Linked DNA regions of Homo sapiens: regions 1, 2, 3, 4, 5 and 7 are each linked to region 6. The links are contacts of gene promoters, found by promoter capture Hi-C in blood cells and fetal thymus (Javierre and others, 2016). All regions are on one chromosome and are shown on one strand. The core of a region is centred on a gene start or on the middle of the fragment in contact, and the rest is flanking DNA. Distances in the headings are between cores, read along the strand shown.

The links. The method cuts DNA at HindIII sites, captures the fragments that hold promoters and counts their contacts. A CHiCAGO score of 5 or more calls a contact.
Region 1: a contact is called between a fragment that was not itself captured here and the fragment with the promoter of SNX27 in region 6, in 2 of 17 cell types (M2 macrophages and activated CD4 T cells). The highest score is 5.7, in M2 macrophages.
Region 2: a fragment that was not itself captured here is called in contact with the fragment with the promoter of SNX27 in region 6 in 1 of 17 cell types (M2 macrophages); the score reaches 5.1 in M2 macrophages.
Region 3: a fragment that was not itself captured here is called in contact with the fragment with the promoter of SNX27 in region 6 in 15 of 17 cell types (M2 macrophages, megakaryocytes, M1 macrophages and 12 more); the score reaches 10.9 in M2 macrophages.
Region 4: a contact is called between a fragment that was not itself captured here and the fragment with the promoter of SNX27 in region 6, in 2 of 17 cell types (erythroblasts and M2 macrophages). The highest score is 5.2, in erythroblasts.
Region 5: a contact is called between the fragment with the promoter of MRPL9 here and the fragment with the promoter of SNX27 in region 6, in 4 of 17 cell types (naive CD4 T cells, total CD8 T cells, total CD4 T cells and 1 more). The highest score is 8.0, in naive CD4 T cells.
Region 7: a fragment that was not itself captured here is called in contact with the fragment with the promoter of SNX27 in region 6 in 13 of 17 cell types (naive CD4 T cells, fetal thymus, non-activated CD4 T cells and 10 more); the score reaches 8.4 in naive CD4 T cells.

The regions. Positions count from the first base shown.
Region 1 is chr1:151,409,791-151,412,515 of GRCh38, forward strand. POGZ (pogo transposable element derived with ZNF domain) reads right to left here. Exons shown (of 19, transcript NM_015100.4): 11 at 2,506-2,606; 12 at 1,835-1,981. Among named protein-coding and RNA genes, the nearest start is that of PSMB4, 12 kb to the left of the region's middle. The HindIII fragment of the contact is 2,672 bases long and covers 140-2,725 here.
Region 2 is chr1:151,379,098-151,381,797 of GRCh38, forward strand. No RefSeq gene overlaps it. Among named protein-coding and RNA genes, the nearest start is that of SELENBP1, 7.7 kb to the left of the region's middle. The HindIII fragment of the contact is 1,170 bases long and covers 820-1,989 here.
Region 3 is chr1:151,453,511-151,456,210 of GRCh38, forward strand. All of the region lies in intron 1 of POGZ (pogo transposable element derived with ZNF domain), which reads right to left. Among named protein-coding and RNA genes, the nearest start is that of POGZ, 4.6 kb to the right of the region's middle. The HindIII fragment of the contact is 951 bases long and covers 888-1,838 here.
Region 4 is chr1:151,426,899-151,429,598 of GRCh38, forward strand. POGZ (pogo transposable element derived with ZNF domain) reads right to left here. Exons shown (of 19, transcript NM_015100.4): 6 at 1,225-1,515; 7 at 925-1,143. Among named protein-coding and RNA genes, the nearest start is that of PSMB4, 29 kb to the left of the region's middle. The HindIII fragment of the contact is 3,154 bases long and covers 1-2,700 here.
Region 5 is chr1:151,762,156-151,764,855 of GRCh38, forward strand. MRPL9 (mitochondrial ribosomal protein L9) reads right to left here and starts at 1,341. Exons shown (of 7, transcript NM_031420.4): 1 at 1,172-1,341; 2 at 835-991; 3 at 221-345. The coding sequence starts at 1,324. It also overlaps a transcript of OAZ3 not described here. RefSeq lists an enhancer at 1,112-1,491. The HindIII fragment of the contact is 8,401 bases long and covers 1-2,700 here.
Region 6 is chr1:151,610,631-151,613,330 of GRCh38, forward strand. It overlaps SNX27 (sorting nexin 27), which reads left to right and starts at 1,420. Exons shown (of 12, transcript NM_001330723.2): 1 at 1,420-1,882. The coding sequence starts at 1,572. It overlaps LOC124904420 (a long non-coding RNA gene), which reads right to left. Exons shown (of 2, transcript XR_007066622.1): 1 at 2,561-2,700; 2 at 1-1,769. RefSeq lists an enhancer at 1,196-1,295 and a silencer at 1,336-1,775. The HindIII fragment of the contact is 5,045 bases long and covers 1-2,700 here.
Region 7 is chr1:151,784,262-151,786,961 of GRCh38, forward strand. All of the region lies in intron 1 of TDRKH (tudor and KH domain containing), which reads right to left. Among named protein-coding and RNA genes, the nearest start is that of TDRKH, 4.9 kb to the right of the region's middle. The HindIII fragment of the contact is 2,858 bases long and covers 1-2,700 here.

The DNA.
Region 1 (2,725 bases), core at 226-2,725, 200 kb before region 6:
TTCTCACTTAACACATCAGTATATACAGATATGTCTCCTGGTGAGACCACTTTGAGGATTCAGTCTGCCTAGTATTGAAGTCCTTCAAAAATAGAACCCATGTCTATGATTTTCTTTAGTAGGATAACAAAGCTCTGTAAGCTTAGGCTAAGAGACAATTTCCATGCCCCTATTTGGAAATACAGTTGTGGTAGACAATCAGCAGTCACTACTGTGCAAAGGAGACTATGAGTGTAATAGGGTACATATGTTTGTGTGCATATGTATGTGACTATTAAGCACACATGCACTCATCTTATTCTCCATTTTGAATCCTCTCTTATATACTATATACCTTTCACTCTCCTCTAGTGGCTCTCTTCTTGTAGTATTTTAAAACGAAGTCATAGCTTTTCATCTTATAAGGAAAATAAAAGCAATAAAAAACTCTTCTTTGCCACTTCTTCCTCTGGATTTACCTACCCTGGGTCCTCCCTTTTTATAAATAAACTTCTTTAAATACATCGTCTTCATTTCCTTACCTCTCATTCATTTGTTCTGCTGAAATGTGACTTCCACCCTACCAACCAACAAAATGGCTCTCATCAATGTTGCTAAATTAAAGGCCTGTTTCTAAGTCTCTATGTTGCTTGACACCTTCCTGTAACATATGACATTTTGATCACACCCTTTTCTTTAAAACACTTTCTTCTCCCCAGTTTCCTTAAGGTTAAGACTCTTCTGGTTTTCCTCCTAGTACTATGGTGGTTGCTTTATAGATAAGGGACTTCAAATATCCTAAGCCTTCTCTTATTCTCAACAGGGTTGGGGGGCCCATGGTATTTAAGTTTAAAATCTATAGGATTTATATAACGCTGATTCCTAAATCTTTTCTACAACCCAGAGTTCTCTCACAGGCTTGAGATCTATTATCCAACAGCTACACTTGACATCCACAGATACTGCTAACTTACAATATCCAAGCTCATGATCTCCCCCCTCACAAATATACTTTCTCTATTGTTTCTATTTCAGCAAATAGTTCCCTCATTCACCCAACTGCCCAAGACAGAATCTTAGGCACTATTCTTAACTACTGCATTGCTACCTTCACCTAATCCATCTCTACATCATAAATATCACAAATCTTCTGAATATCTCTCAACTCTACCCTCTTTTTATTTCAAAAGCCAATAGCCACTATCATCTCTCACCTAAACTACTGAAAAAGGCCTTCTAGCTAGTTTCCCTAACTGTAGTCTCAATCTCCTTTAATCCATTCTCTGCAGTGCAGGCAGTATAAAGCCTTAACTAAAGCTGAACACATCACTCCAGGGCTTAAAACCCCTTTAGTGGCTTCCCAGTGAATTCTTTTCATGGCTTAAAAGATCCTCCATGATCTGTCCCTGCCTAACTTCCAACCCCTCTGTCTCTTACACCCTACACTGAATCTCTCTCAATTTCTTGAACCTCCACAATTTTGCTTTGTGCCTTGGGCACACTGTTCTTCGTCTTATTTCATCTGGCTCATTCTTATTCATCCCTCAGGTATTGAACAACACTTCTTTCTGGAAGCCTTACTAGGCACCCAGAATAGCTATGTGATTTTCTATATCCTATAATTTCCCCAACACAGTACTCTTCATGTTTTATTGTATTGTTTGCCTTGTTTACTACTAAATCTCTAGCATCTAGACTAGTACATGGCACATTAAGTGAATTCAATAAATTTCTGCAAACATATGCATATTATAATCTCTGCCCAAATTATTTGCCTAGCTCAGCCCTGGCCCCAGCATCCATGTTTAAAAAAAAAAAAAACAAGAGAATATGGGAATTGCTTGGTGCCTAGTACCTGGTGCCTCATGTAATGCTGTTGGAATGCATTGCCATTTTTGAAGACCTTCAGGCAATAAGGGCAGAGCAGATGCCGGGTATCCTCATGGATCATCCGAAAATGGACATCTACCTCAGAGTAGAGTGAGGAGCGATATTGACACACCTGAGTCACATAGGAGGGAAAATAAGGCTAAGAATGAAGTGAACAACTGAGAGGCCTTAAAAAAAAAGGTAGCAACAAAAATTTTTAAATTAAAAAAAAAAAGTTTTCTCAAATGCATAGAAATCAAATTATTTTCCTGACTTTGTAATGCTGGGCTATGTTTGTGATAGGTTTAGCTATTACTTTAAAAATAGGAAGGGACAGAAAGTCTAAGAATAATCCATGTTCTCTAACTAAGAAAAATAAAGCCTTTTCTGTCAATTTCCAAAGGGCACGTTCAGGAGACAGACACTCCCTTAGAATATGCACATGTTCCCGGCTAGTCTACTTGTGGACATGTTCTTTTATGTTTTTCTCCTGCATGGAAACCCTGAAGATAAACTGTGTTTACTATTTCTTCTGTACCTACTCAGAGTTCCTAAACTGAGTGTATGCAGTAGGTGGTCAACAATATTCATTAGTAAATTCTTTGTATTCTTCCTGAGGGCAAAACTGCTAAAACTCCCTGGAGAAAAAGGCAATACCTGGCAAACATAAGGCATCTCTCCAGGCTTATGAGTATCCTTCATATGCTGGAGAAATAGTGGCTCACTTTCAAACGCCCATTCACAGATCTTGCACTTGGCTGTAAGAAGAAAAGTAATCAATAAATCCACTTGAAAATAAGACAAAAGTCCTGCTGACTCACAATCTTTATTTTCTCTGCCTCCTTTATTTTGATTTTCAACAATCAGTAAATCATAG
Region 2 (2,700 bases), core at 155-2,654, 230 kb before region 6:
TGTTGGCCAGGCTGGTCTTGATCTGCCTGCCTCAGCCTCTCAAAGTACTGGGATTACAGGTGTGAGCCACTGTGCCCAGCCTCATTTTAATTAAAACTACATAAAAATTAAGCTATATAGTTTTAACTAGTTAAATTTATATTTATTTATTTATTCATCCATCTATACGTTCATAGAAAAGGATTTGGCTTATGATTGATGTCAGTATTTTGGGAGGCTGAGGCAGGCAGATTGCTTGAGCCCAGGGGTTTGTGACCAGCCTGGGCAACATAATGAGACACCGTCTCTACAAAAAATTAAAACAATTTAGGCCTGGCAGGCTCCTGTAGTCCTAGCTACTTCGGGGGTGGGGAAGGTGTGCTGAGGTGGGAAGATTGTTTAAGCCCTGGAGGTCGAGGCTGCAGTGAGCTGTGATTGCACCACTGCACTCTGGTCTGGGTGGCAGAGTGAGACGCTGTCTCAAAAAAAAAAAAAAGTAGGCCGGGCGTGGTGGCTCACTCCTGTAATTCCAGGACTTGGGGAGGCCGAGGCGGGCGGATCACGAGGTCAGGAGATCGAGACCATCCTGGCTAACACAGCGAAACCCCATCTCTACTAAAAATACAAAAAAAAAAAAAAAAAAAAAAATTAGCCGGGCATGGTGGCAGGCGCCTGTAGTCCCAGCTACTTGGGAATCTGAGGCAGGAGAATGGCATGAACCCGGGAGGTGGAGGTTGCAGTGAGCTGAGATCGTGCCACTGCACTCCACCCTGGGCGACAGAGCAAGACTCCGCTTAAAAAAAAAAAAAAAAACCTAAAGAAAAGGATTTGTAGAGATAAAGCTTCCCTTATCATGCCAAATGTAGCTAACAGTGGTTACCTCAAGAATTGGATTACAGGGAGCAATTTTTATTTTTCACATTATGTATCAATCATATTTTTAAAATTTTATATTAAGTTTGAAATACATGTGTAAACAATTGAAACAGTGAAAGAATACAGTAACATTTTTGCCTATAAGATGGGCAAAAAATTTAAAGGTTAAAATCTTGTATTGGTGAGACTATGCGGCAAAGGGACCACTCATTTAGGACTAATGAGAGTGTCAATTGGTGCCTTACTAACAAAAACAATTTGTCAATACCTCACAAAAGTTAAACTGTGCATACTGTTTTACCTAGGAATTTCACTTCAAGGATGCAATCCCATGGAAATACCTGCACAAGTAGGCAAGAAACAGGTACAGGTTGAGGCGGTGGCTCACGCCTGTAATCCCAGCACTTTGGGAGGCTGAGGCAGGTGGATCCCCTGAGGTCAAGAGTTCGAGACCAGCCTGGCCAACATGGCAAAACCCTGTCTCTACTAAAAGTATAAGAATTAGCCTGGCGTGGTGGCACACACCTGCAATCCCAGCTACTTGGGAGGCTGAGGCAGGAGAATCACTTGAACCTGGGAGGTGGAGGTTGCAGCGAGCCAAAATTGCACCACTGCATTGCAGCCTGGGGCGACAGAGGGAGACTCTGTCTAAAAAAAAAAAAAAAAAAGAAAAAAGATATAGGTACAGGTTGAGCATCCTTAATCTGAAAATCTGAAATCCAAAATGCTCCAAAATCTGAAATGTTTTGAGCACCAGTGTGACACCACAGGTAGCAAATTGCGTGCCTGACCTCACGTGTTGGGTCACAGTCAAGACTTTGTTTCATGTACAAATTATTTAAAATATTGTATAAAGTTACCTTCAGGCTATGTGTATAAGGTGTTTATGAAACACAAATAAATTTGCGTTTAGACTTGGGTCCCATCCCCAAGATATTTTAATATATATATATGTATTCCAAAATCTGAAAAAAATCTGAAATCTGGAACACTTCTGGTCCCAAGCAGTTTGGATAAGGGATACCCAAACTGTAATAATAAAATAACAACAGCTATCATTTATTAAATACATGGTACTGTTCGAAGTACTTAGGGATAAAGAAAGAGAAATGAACCACATCCACCTCATATAAAAGCTTTCCATGTGCCAAGTACTTCTCTGAGCTATTTGCATGTTCTGCCTTTACTTATACAGGGTTTACAACATCCCTATGAAGTGGGTATTTTCATTATGTCCAATTTACAGATAAAGAAGTTACAGCATAGAAAGAGGAAGCAACTCATACAAAGTTACACAGCTAGTGAGTAGCAGAGCCCAGGATCTGAAGCCAGGCAGTAGCTTCAGGCTCTGGCCTGGGACCTCTATGCACATAAGTTCGCAGCCCCTTCAGACAGAATGCTTTTGTGTTTTGTTGCTTGGATGGCTGGCCAGCACATTCAGCCCTTTCTATATTGGGTGGGAGGCAAAAGGCCAGATACTCACCGTCCCAGGCCTTAGGCCTCCTTGCTGCTAGGAGCAAGCATGTGACTTGGTCTTGGACGCAGCCAGGTGTGCCCACCGGAGACTCCAACACAAGGAAGTAGGGAGTGGGTTCTGGTTGCTGCAGGGAAGGCTGGTGTGCGGGTGGGTCACCATGCTGCAGAACCTCCCAGGGTCCAGCGCAGCTGGTGGTGCCATGGCAGCACATAGAACTTGAGGGGTAGAGGCAGTGTCCTTTGATTGGGATCTAGGACAAGAAAGGGCTCTCTGGCTGCAACCACTTCTGCCACTGGGGCCTTATGATCGAGCAGATCCAGTGATGCTTGGTGAGTTGGGGTGATCCATGGGATGAGGCAGGCAAGAGG
Region 3 (2,700 bases), core at 113-2,612, 160 kb before region 6:
AATAACAAATTAAGGTGGATTATGTAGGCTACCAAGGAGGTACATTACTTTCTTCCATTAATCCATTATTTGACATCTTGGTAACCTAGGTGGTTTCTCTATTTTGTAGTAATTGTAACATGATTTTTTTGTGCACTCAATAGGTTTTACTTAACACTGCAGGCTCACACAGAACTATTAGCAATACTCAGTCTCTTGTCTCATCCTTCAATCCATAATATGGGAGTACCAGATAAATACTCTCCTGGAGGGAAGGGGACTATTTCTTAAATGCTGGCGAATATGGTAGTCTATACTAAGGCCCTATATGATCAGCTAGTCAATAAAAGTCTATATAATTGTAAAGGCAAGATAAAAACAGACCTTTTAAAACAATATACTATTTAAAAGCAGCAAAAAGAATCCTGCAGATACACCTGTATACTTTTAAGGTATTTAATGGGCAGCAAATGTTGCCTATCTTCATCTCAAAGAAAATGAGAAAAAGATCTGTTTTCCACAACTATCCTGACATACTTGGTTCTTGAAAGCTCTGAATTCCTTTGTCTTGTTCTTTCATAGCTGTAAAGTCCAGAAATGAAGAATGAAGAATTCAGAAATGAAGAATTTGGTATCTAACGTTTTCAACTTACTGCCAGTACATACCTGCCCAAAAATCAACATAAAAAGAACATTTGGAACAGGAAAAATATTTTACAGAAAACAAACATTTTAAGAATACCACTTTCTTGTTCCAGGGTGAAAAATAAACAATGATAATCCTCAACATAACTGGTAATTATGTTTTCAAGTTACCTCAATTTTTGGCTCTAAAAAGGACTAATACCAGAAAACCTATAGGGCTGAATACTTAATCTGTGTATAAAACTATAGTTAAACATGTAATAAGCTTTTATTTATCCAGTCTTTTGCACAGCCCATTTTGTCCCTCACAACATCTGTTATAGTACCTCATATGTAAGAATCATAAGGGTTTTAAGTAGTCTTAATAACCTAAAATTTCCAAACTCAAAATACTTTCCTCTTGTCTGGTAGCCAATCCTGTATCAAGAAACACCCAAATATTTAGTTCTGTGCTCTTTACTAAAACAAGTAAGCAACAAGTTCTCTTCTTTAAAGGGGTTCAATATTCAGGAGTCCCTTTCCCAAGAAAAATATCTATACTATGATGGAAAACTTTTCTTCAATGACAGCTGTGTGTTGCCTAAATTCCATTTCTATGCTTTCAATTTCTTTTAACTCTGCTAACACCTAGCAATAGGTTAGTGTCTCTTTTCTGCTCTCCTCCCCTTGGTTACATATAAAAATACGTTTTTCAGTTGGGCGTGGTGGCTCACGCCTGTAATCCCAGCACTTTGGGAGGCCAAGGCGGGTCGATCAAGAGGTCAGGAGTTTGAGACCAGCCTGATCAATATGGTGAAACCCCATCTCTAGAAAAATACAAAAATTACCCAGGTGTGGTGGCGCGTGCCTGTAATCCCAGCTACTGAGGAAGCTGAAGGAGGAGAATCGCTTGAACCCAGGAGGCGGAGGGTGCAGTGAGCCGAGATTGCGCCATTACGCTCCAGCCTGGGCAATAGAGCGAGACTCCATCTCAAAAAAAAAAAAAAGACAAGTTTTTGTGAATATGGCTTAATATCACAAACAAGAATACCAAAGAATCTATCAAAATGTTACCATATTGATATTATGGCAAAGGCATTAACCAGCTCTAGGATTTGTAATCAACCAGCTCTAAAGTTTTTATTTTACAGATAAGGTCAAAACAGTGGTTTAGAGAGACGAAGTAACTTCCTCAAGGTTACAGTTAGTAAATATCCCAGTTAGGATTCAAAGCAAGCTTTTTTTGCTTTAGAATTCTTCCCCAGGTCACTGCCTCTTCCATCAACTTCAACTATTTATAAATTCTCCCAAGTTCCCCAAGGGAGTTAGATTTGAATGATGTAAAGAGCAGAAACATAGGACTGACTGAATGATTCTCATTTTTTTGACTCTTAAAATTATTGAAGACGCCAAAGATCTTTTGTTTATGTGAATTTTATCTTTCCACATTTACCACAAATTTTTAAAATGTAGTATTTATCAATGTATTTTAAGACAAGCCCATTATAAGTTAACATAAATAACATTTCAACAAAAAATACTTTCCCTCCAAAAAGTGAGAAAAGTAACGTTGTTTTGCATTTTGCAAATCTCTTTTATGTCTAACTTGATAAAAGATGGTTGGATTCTCACAGTTACTTCTGCATTCAGTCTGTTGCTATATGTAGCTTTGGTTAAGTATATAATGAAAATCTAGTCGGAAAAGGGAGAAGTATTTTAATAACCTTTTCAGATAACTGTGTTTGGTAAATACTAAAACTCAACAAACGGTAGTTTCTTTCTTTTTTTTTTTTTTTTTTTTTTTTAATAAATAGAGACAGGGTCTCACTATGCTGACCAGGCTCAACTCCAACTCCTGGGCTCACACAATCCTTCCACCTTGGCCTCCCAAAGTGCTGGGATTACAGGAGTGAGCCACCACGCTAGGCCAAATAGTAGTTTCTTAAAGGACAGTTAACATTTTGGAATCTGAAACCACATCAATCCACTTTTTTACTGTTAAAATCCATTGCTATGTCTGGAATTTTCAAAGGATCTTTTGCCTTTGCTTGATTTTGCAACATCATGCATTGGTCATTTGCAAAGCCTAGATTTACT
Region 4 (2,700 bases), core at 192-2,691, 180 kb before region 6:
AACACCATGTTTTAAAGGTTTTTACTTTTTTTGAGACAGGGTGTCGTTCTGTTGCAGTGGCATGCTCATGGCTCACTGCAGGCTCAACCTTCTGGGTTCAAGCCCAAGCCATCCTCTCACCTCAGACTTCTGAGTAGCGAGGACTGCAGACATACACCACCACGCCTGGCTAATCTTTTTTTTTTTTTTTTTTGTAGAGATGGGATCTCACCATGTTGCCCAGGCTGGTCTCAAACTCCTAGGCTCAAGTGATCCTCCCGTCTTGGCCTCCCATAATGCTGGGATGAGGTGTGAGCCACTATACCTTGCGGTTTTTATTTTTAAATGGTTGAAATAAAAGAATAAAACTTTTCGACACATGAAAATTTTATGAAACTTAAATTTCAGAGTCCATAAATAGTTTTTAGTGGAGCACAGCCATGCTCATTCGTTTATGTATCTGTGGCTGCTTCCCCACCACAACAGCACAGTTAATAGCTGCAACAGAGGCTATATATTGTGCACAAAGCCTACAACTTTACTACTAGGCCCTTTACAGAAAACATTTGCCGACCCCTGCTCTAGACCACTGAAAACCCTCATGCTCATCATTCTCAACCTGAAGATCTCTCTACCAAATCCTAACTTTAAAACCTTGCTCAGAAATCCATCTCTTCCATGAAGTTATCTTTCATTATCTCACCCATCTTTAATCAATCAATTTCACTAATCTCCAAAGCACAATTACACACATAATTTCTTGGAGCTGATTCAGTTACACTTTTTGTAAGTGGCTTTCTCCTTACTAAAGTTTCTGTAAGAACAAACTACAGCAGCTGTATTTTATTTTATTTTTCTATTTCTGAGTATAAAGCTCTGATACAACAAACACTTTATTAATGTTTTTGAATGACTGGCTGCTCAGAGTCTTTCAGGTTATTGTACCTTTCATTGAAGACTCAGGTCCGCTGGTTCTTTGAGAGCCATGAGCAGAGCTGTTGTTGGACACCACCACTGGCCCAGGACTCTGGCCCAGGGAAGGGATGGTGTTAAGGGTATTCACCAATTTGGCCACTTCATTGCTATTTTCGCCTGTAACACCAGGTCGCTTCACAGTGACAAAGCTGGCAATGCTCACTGCAGGTGGAGAGGGGAAGGAGGGAGCTACGGTGACCAAGTGATAATCATCTGTTCTCCACCCACCATCCCAACCTGGCTCTGCCATCTCCTCTTCCGAAGCCTTACCTAGCTTGGGATTCGTGGTCTGGTTTGACTGGCCTGGAGACTGAACAGCTAGTTGCCCCAGTGAGGTTGGCTGTGTGGCAGTGGGAGTGGTAGAAGTGCTGGGAGTGGACTTGGTCTGCTGGGACTGGGACTGTGGGACGGTGCTTCGAATGGTAAGAGTGGCCGGGATGACGGTGGTGAAGGTGTTGGTGGTGGGCCTCACAGGCATTGTGGAGCCTGGCCTCACAGGGGTCATCTGGGAGAACACTTGTGGAACTCCAACTGTCGGCTTAACAAACTGGGTACCTGGGGCTTTAAAAGAGAGACAAAGTACCAGATCTTGGTCAGTGAGCTCACCTATAACACATTCTCCCTGCCTTTACTGGAAAGATTATTTCCCCAAACTGATGGATGATCATCAGAGGTTTCCAAGAGGAGTATAGATTCTAAAGACTAAGAAAGCACAAGGTGTCCATGTTGACAAAATAACCTGGGCAGCCTAAAAACATTAAGTTAAATAAGACTCCCATCAACTCCTCCTAAAACACCTTATCACACTGCCTTTTTAATTCTAAGAATACAATCAGTGGCTTGACCTCGGTACTGGAAGAAAAGAGTGGGAAGCAATATGGGTGTATATAGGCCAAATGGCAAACCTGGTCCTGAAAAAAGAAATCAGTCTTTCTCAGAGTACTAAAGGAGTCTTCCATCCTCTTCTATCAACTCAGAAGACAGACTATGCCATTCTACTAGGATGTCCCAAAGAGGAATGTCTCCTGGCTCAACTGTAGACAATTCCACTGAGAAAAATAAAGAAATGCCAGGGTAAGCTGGTCAGACTTAAACCCCTATGGGCTACGAGAACAAAAAACAAAACCTTAGGAAGACAAGCTACAGAGGTACCCTTACAAATAGCTAAATTAAGATACTCTTTTTTGGTCTGAATTGTAGTAAACTTATACATGCTAAATAGAGCAATGGAAAATTCTAAGATTTTAAAAAAATTATCCTTCTCAGAATCTTAAAAAAAAAAAAAACTATCTAGCAGAATCTTAAAAAAAAAAACTATCTAGTCATTGACAGTATTTATCCATAAAAGGAATGTCATTTGTTTATATCTAAAATCTATGCTATAAAATTAAAACAAAGTTTATAATCCCACCGTGCAAATGAGGAGATGTGTAAGGAGTGTAGAATTTATGAGTTTGCATTAATAACATAGTCTTAATAGCTGACTAAATACCAGTTACAGAAAAATGACTGTAAACTCTGTTTTACTACTTGATGAAGGGTGGTGAAAAGCTAAACAGAAATAAATAAAACCACCACCCTGGCCAAAGGTTAGAAGCAGATTTTTTAAAATTGGGCTTAAATCATTAATATTTTTATATTTTTAGATTTTCTTTAAATGTACTTACTAAATGACTTAGGATATTTAGAACAATAAAAACAAATCTTCTGGATGCCAGTTTATTCCAAATGGATAGACATTTTTCC
Region 5 (2,700 bases), core at 91-2,590, 150 kb after region 6:
CTAGAAAAGAAAGTTAAAGATGAAAAGCAGTAAAAGAAAAATGAGCCCATGTTAAATAGCATCAAACTATTCCTATGTTGGACATTGGCTGGGCTTCTGCATTCCTGTTCTTCTAGTTCCTATTTCATTTTCAAGTTAAGTTAAATGTCAAAGGGAAGGAAGCTGCAAGAGAAAAGAAGTTTTATCTCCCCAAGTCTCTCTGTCCTTCCTTTGAGCTCACCAATTTCTCCTCTTCAAACAGCTTCTTGTTTTCAGGGGATGCATATACAGCCAGTCCCTGAGGAAGGAGTCGATTCCGGCCTAAAGATTTCTTCACTGAGACCAGGTCACCCCGGACTCCAACATCTGTCAATTAGAACAGAGACAGGGGAATTAGAACCATCTAGGAGTCCCTAAAGAAAAGATGTCAAAAAGAGAAGCACCTCTTAGTTTCTCACAGTGCTTATTTTTCCTAAAAGAAATGCTAATTCATATTCACTAGGAACAAGATTTAAGAGACTGCTAATTAGTTTCTTTAGAACTTGATGTATAAATTTAATATCCCCTGTATAGAGGGAGTTGTCGTCCCATGGAGGATTTCAGTATCTGTGGCACAAATTGTCAGGCTCCTCTCCCCACACACTGTTAATGATGTTGCTGCCTTTATGTTTTAATTTTCAATGCTGGAGGCCAGTGTCACAATCACAATAGTTTTTATGGCTTCCTCTTCTCACATATAGAGTTGGATTGTTTCCACAAAGAAAAAGCAAGGCAAATAGTTGAGGGGGACGGGCTAGAAAAAGCTGATGCCAAACCGGACCAGCCTGAGAGGAAGCGCCTCGGCCCGGGCCTTACTCTCCACCGACTGCGTCAGGATGAGCTCCAGGTTTTCTTTGGGCCGATGCTTCGTGTCCTCCACCAGCTTATAGACGCGATGTCGCCGGTGCAGGCGCGGCTTCCGGCCCTCCCCGGCCAGCGGTACCTTCCACCAGCGCTCCACGATGACCGTGCCCTGGCGGCCAGGAAAGCGACGGTAAGCTAGTCTCCACAAGGAACACCCTCTCCCTCCACCACGGCCGCCAGCCCCTCAAGGAAAGCCCGCCACCCCCACATCGGCCCCCTCCAGGTCCCAGTGCGCCTCCAGAAACAATACTCGAGCGTATCTACCCCCTACCCCAGACTCAGCCCTCACCCGATTTTGAGAAAGGCTGAAGTTGCAGGCCAGGTCAGGGGCGTTCCCTTCATGTCGCGGCCGCAGTAGCTCCTGGACGCCTCCCCGAAGCAGCCGTCCAGCGCCCGCCCGCAGCAGAGCTCTGCCCGGGGCCGTGACAACGGGCGCCGCCATGTTCACAGGCACAGAATGAGACCTGAGGGAGGACCCCGGCGTCGGCGGCAGGAAAGGCCCCCGCCAGTGCTGCCTGCGGCGCGCCGGTACGGCTGAGCGAAAGTATGGGGAGCGGGCCGGGGAACAGATGGCACCGCGGCTTGCCTATTTTTGCTTTTTGGCAGAGGTGACGGACGCCTAGAATTACTGACTGATAATGGAATGAGTGTTAGGTGGACTGACGCCGGAAAAGACGCTCTTCCTCTTGAAAGTGTGGGCTTTGCTGTAGCTCCAGTTGCTGGGCTAACTTTTAATTCTAACGTTCTGTGATGACTGGATACTGACCGGAGAATGAATGATGCTCTCACTTTTCCTTACTTCAAATCTACCTAAAAGTGGTAAAGGATGGGATCCCTTGGAAAACTCTGCCAGCTCCAGGAGGAGCCTGACCCTTAATCATTATACTGCAGTATTTAAGCTAATAAAGGAGAATTCTAAATCACAAGCTATGTAAACCGTAGAAAAAAAAGCAACTATGGTAAGGCCGCGACAGTTCCCTCTGGGGAGGGTCTCAGTACTGGACAGAAGACCATAAAAACTGGATGAAAGAAGGTCCATTTGGCAGAGATTATGGAAAGACTGGCCCTTAAACATACTGACCAGTCCTCCTTCCTCCTAAATACACTACTTGGCCTCCTGGACACCGGTCTTCTTCAGTCTCGTTTGCTGATTTCTCCTTTTCTCCCCGCTTCTTAGAATGCCCTCGGGACTCCGTTTTTGAACCTTTACTCTTCTCAGTATACACTCACTGTTGATCTCATCCAGTCTCGTGGCTTACAATACCATTTATAAGCCAATGACTCCCAAATTTCTAGTTCCATCCTAGACATCTCCCAAACTCGTCTCAAATATTCAACTGTTTATTCGTCATTTTCCTCTTACGTATCCAAAGGACACCTCAAAGTTAACTGTCCCAAACTAATTTATTTATTCCCCCCTCGCCCCCAAAACTGCCCCATCTGCAGCCTTTTTCCTCTCAGTTGACAGAAACTCCATTCTTTCCATTCTAACTCTTTTCTCTCATACTCCATCAGGAAATCCTGTGGGTTCTACCTTTAAATTACAGATAGTCCCTGACTTGGATTTACAATTTTTGAGTTTGTGATGGTGTGAAAGTGATGTGCACTCAGTAGGACATCAATAAGTTACATGAAATATTCAACACTTTATTATAAAATAGGCTTTGTGTTAGATGATTTTACCCAACTGTCGGATAAGTTGTCTGAGCATGTTTAAGATAGGCTAGGCTAAGCTATGGTGTTTGGTAGGTGTATTATATGCATTTTCAACTTATGATACTTTCAACATACGATGGGTTTATCAGGACATAACCCTAT
Region 6 (2,700 bases), core at 170-2,669:
GCCTATGCCTACACCAGATCTGGATCATCAATTTCACTGTCTTCCACCTCCATCTCTTGTCTCACTGGAAGGTCTTCATGGGTAATAACATGCACAGAGCTGTCATCTGATGGTAACAATAACTGGGGCCAGGCACAGTGGCTCACACCTGTAATCCCAGCACTTTGGGAGGCTGAGGTGGTTGGATCACCTGAGGTCAGGAGTTCGAGACCAGCTTGGCCAACATGGTGAAACCCTGTCTCTACTAAAAATACCAAAAAATTAGCCAGGCATGGTGGCGCATGCGTTTAATCGCAAGGGATTTGGGAGGCTGAGGCAGGAGAATCACTTGAACCTGGGAGGCAGAGGTTGCGGTGAGCCGATATCGTGCCATTGCATTCCAGCCTGGGCGATAAGAGCGAAACTCCATCTTAAAAAAAAAAAAAACAAAAAAACAAAACAAAACAAAAAAACACAATACTTGGAATACGTGGAAAAAAATCACAATACTTAGAATACCTAGAATACCTTCTGAAGGACCTGCCTGAGGCTGCTTTACAGTTAACTTAAAAAAAAAAGTAGAAGGAGTACACTCTAAAATAGTGATAAAAACTACAGTGAATTCATAAACTAGTAACATAGTTCTTACCATTATCAAGTATTATGTACTGTACATAATCATATGTGCTATACTTTCACATGACTGGCAGTGCAGGTTTGTTAACACCAGCATCACTCCAAACATGTGAGTAATGCTTGTGCTATGACCTTATGGTGGCTACTGTGCCACTAGGTGATAGACATTTTTCAGCTCCATTATCATCTTAGGGGGCCTCCCTCGTGTTTGCAGTCCATTGTAGACCAAAATGTCCTTATGTGGCACATGACTGTAGTTGCAATACAGGACAAGAAAGTTGCACAATAACTGGGCCTTAGTTCCTGATACTTAGTAGCTGGATGACTTTGAGCACTCTAAGGTTGTTTCCTAATAACGTAAAATAGGGAAGCTAATCGTGATCCGGTTGCCTCACAGGTTGTTGGGCCCTGGTCAACATATAAGTTACTGTGCCAAAAAATGAGTTGATATAATTTAAGACTGTGTTGAATCACAAACGTTAAGTTATTCTAACATTATTGTTTTTTAGAGGTTATGAAATGAAAGGGGGGGGGGCGAAAAACTTGGTCCGCATCAAGAACTGAATCATTTTACCACGCTGGGTGCTGGGTTATACTCTCCCCACCCAGCAGATCAAACTCCTAACCCAGCATGAAAGATAAACTACAACTCCCGGCAGGCCTTGCTTCCGAACTGCGTCTTATAACCTCGGCTCAGGCCCAGGCCCAGACCGCTCCCCGCCCCCGCCACCCATAAACTACATCTCCCAGGAGGCCCCACGGTGCCCGATTGTCCGCTTTTCGCCCGCCCCCTGCCTCCTCTTCACCCCGCGCCAGCAGCTCGGTGGCCGAGTCGGTCCCGCGGCCGGCGGATCGGGCGCGCGCGTCGGGGGTCGTCCGGCTGCCAGGCAGGGCGAGCACGCGCCGGGAGGCCTTGGAGGCGTAGGGGGCGGGGGTACGGCTCGCCTGCTCGCAAGATGGCGGACGAGGACGGGGAAGGGATTCATCCCTCAGCCCCTCACAGGAACGGAGGTGGCGGCGGCGGCGGGGGGTCTGGGCTCCACTGCGCCGGGAACGGCGGCGGGGGAGGCGGCGGCCCGCGGGTCGTGCGCATCGTCAAGTCCGAGTCCGGCTACGGCTTCAACGTGCGGGGCCAAGTGAGCGAGGGCGGGCAACTGCGGAGCATCAACGGGGAGCTGTACGCGCCGCTGCAGCATGTGAGCGCCGTGCTGCCCGGGGGGGCGGCCGATCGGGCCGGGGTGCGCAAGGGGGACCGCATCCTGGAGGTGTGAGTATCGGGGCTACCCGCCGCCCCATCCTCCCCGCGCCCCTCCTGCCCCTGCACTCCTCGCTACCCTTGTCACCCCCAGGCCGCACCTCCCCCGAGCTCCGAGCCGGCCTCCGGACCCCCGCCCCTCAGGCCTCCGCAGCCGGGCCCCTCCTTGTGGGCTGCCCTCCCACCACCCGCCCCGGGGCTTCTGCGACGCCGGTCTCCCACCCCGTCGTCTCCAGCTGATGCCCTTGCGCCCCCAGTGCTCCTCCCTGTGCCCCGATTACTCTGGGCTCTTCTCCGCCCCTTTGCCTTCCCGTTTGGCGTGCTGCATTCTGCTCCTCACTCCCCCTCGTCTTGCTCAGAAGGAACCTCATCTGCTCCTTACTGACGGCGTTTCGTTTTCTGATCCAGCCAGTACCGTGTCCCCCCCAAGTTCTCATCTTCAGCATCGCAGTTTCGTTCTCCACCACTCCCCTCCGCCCCCGTGGACTGCCCCTTCTGCCCTCCAGACCAAGTAGGCAGGACCTCTGGTCTGCTCCTACTTTTCCTCCGGAAACACCATCCCTCCCCGCTCGTCTCCTTTTTCTTTCCTTAGTTACCCTCTCCTCATGGTTACGCTGCCCCTAAATTTTTCCATCCCACCGTGTGCCCCTTTCCTCCCCTCCTTTTTGTATTTCTACTCCAAGAGTTTACCTTGCTTTCTGACCCTTGCATGCCTTTGGGGTGGGGGGCGTGGGATTTGACACCGTAGTTTCTCTTCTCGGTTGGCCCCGTATCACACCCTAATTTGGAATCTAGCGTCTCCATCAGCACACCCCTCTGAGAGCATCCCT
Region 7 (2,700 bases), core at 40-2,539, 170 kb after region 6:
ACTACATGATTAACGTTTTCTTTCCTCTCTACTGGATAGTCCCATCAGCAGACAAACATTCTCTGTTCTTAAAGAAAACCCTTCCTGGATTTCACTTCAACTACTTCCCATTTCTTTTCTTCCTTTTAAAGGAAAACTCGAGTGTCAATATATCTGTCCTCAAGTTCTCTTCTTAAATCCACTCTAACTGCTCACATCAGAGTCACCAATGATTTCATACTGCTCAATCCAAAGATCGATTCTCAGTTTTCATCTTACCAGATGTCCCCACAGTATTTGGCACAGCTGATGATTCCCTCTTCTCTGAAACACATTCTCCATAGCACACCCTCCTGGTTTTCCTCTTTCCTTTCTGGCTATTCCATCAGTCTCCCAGTTGCTGGTTTCTTCACATTTTTCTAACCTCTAAACACTGGAGTGCCTCAGGGATCTGTCCTTCGCCCTCTTCTCTGTTCTACCTCACTTTCTTGGTGATCTCAAGTCTCATTCACGGACTGGCTTTAACTCCTATCTAGATGCTGATAACTTCCAAATTAATAGATCCATTTAGGACCTTTCTCAACTGCCTACATGGATCTCCATTTGATGTCTAATAGACATCTCAAACTTAACACTGAGCTCCTGATTCACCCCCTTCCCATAATCTTTGCCATCTCAGCAAATGGCAATTCGTTTTTTTTTTTTTTTTTGAGACAAGGTCTTTCTCTGTTGCCAGGCTGGAGTGCAGTGGCGCAACCATGGCTCACTGCAGCCACAACCTCTGGACTCAAGCAATCCTCCCATCTCTCAGCCTCCCAGTAGCTGAGACTACAGGTGCATGCCACCATGCCCGGCTAATTTTTGTATTTTTTGTAGAGAAAGGGTTTCACCATGTTGCCCAGGCTGGTCTCAAACTCCTGGGCTCAAGTGATCCACCAACCTCAGCCTTCCAAAGTGCTGAGATTACAGGTGTGAACCACTGTGCTCTGCCTCGACTGCATTCTCTTACTCCCTTAGTCATCCTCTCTCTCACACTGCACACCTAGCCTGTCAACAAATCTTATTTGCTCTACCTTCAAATCATCCAGAATCTGACCACTTTTTCTCTTTGCAGTTCTATGACCCTGCTCTAAAACACCATTATCTTTTCCCTAGATTACTGCATTGCTTAATTACGTTCCTGCCTTTGCCATTGTCCATTCAGTTTATTCTCAACACAAGAGCTGGAGTAAGTACTATGTGCTAGATGCTACTGTGGCACTAAAGACACAAAAATGAAGAGATAATGTGTTGAGTAGCTACTATGCCAGGCAAATTACATAATTTTATTTTACAGTCATATAACCCTGTAAGGCAGGAAATATTAATCCCATAGAAGAGTACCCATGCTTGAAGAGGTTATCTAATCTCTAACCCAGAGTCTGGGTTATTCTTGCTTGTAAAAAACCTTGTAAAGTGATTTTAGAAATCCTTCCCCACTCTTCCTTTTACCTAAGCTCTTAGGGTAACAGCACCTGTATTTTTATTCTTTATTTTGATCAACATATTCAATTCAAAATTAATACTGGTAGAAAGTACTGTAGGTGGTTAAAAAAACACTGAAGACTAAAAAACTAAAGATAGGTGATAAAAAACTGAAAACTAAATATCTGTATTTCCAGATATTACAATCTAGTAGAACAAAGCAAGCTGGCTTTAAATAAGATTTGCTTAAAAATGAGTAAATGTAACTTATGCCATAATTTACCTCCAGGTACAAAAATTCAACCCAAATAATTATAATAAACAAAAATGTATTTCACCCTGGGGGGAAAAACTGGCTATATCCTGGTAAGGCTAAAAACATACTCATTAATACAAAACCTACTGTGGAATAAAACTTAGGCTTTCAGGGAAAGCACAGTCAATCTGGAAGAGTAAAGAGAGAAAGGAGAACATCTAGCACCGAAATCTCACTGAGGAGCAGATATAGTCAGGTAAGGGAGGCTGGAGGTAGATTTCTTACAACAGTCATCCTCTCTTATCCTCGAGGAATATGTTCCAAGAACCCCAGTGGATGCCTTGGAGTACTGAAAACTATAGGTTTTTTCAATCTGATAACCAAGATGGCTACTAAGTGACTAAGAGGCGGGTAGCATATACAGCATGGATATGCTGGACAAAGGCAGGATTCTCGTCTGGGCCAGGATGGAGATTTCACCATGCTAGTCAGAATGGTGCACAATTTAAAACTTAAGAATTGTTTACGTATGGAACTTCCCATTTAATCTTTTTGGACCAGGATTGACTATGGGTAAGTGAAAGCAAAACCACGGAGAAGGGTAGACTACTACACTGTCATACAGATGACCAGAATTTGCATCTGGCCTCACAGCTTTACTGATCAACAGAACTGAATAAAGTTCTTCAGAGAACTACCAGAAGTTTGCCAAATCTATTTTTTCTATATCCTGGTTTTAAACAAATTTAATCCACCTTCTTGCCCGGACTCAAAAGCCTGAGCAAATAATAAAACGGCCTTTTACTACCCGAGGTGGGGGATGGGTACCTCTTTTCAAGGGTGTCGTCTATTTTGGGTCATTAGTTACTCAGTGAATTCAGTATATCATTTTTAGAGACTATCAATCTGAGGGAATACTGTTCTCTCCCGACCTTTTTAGAATGTAGGACAGAAAGGGTTGAGGTTAATGTAGGCTGTTTGTTTTCATTTATGAGGTTCTT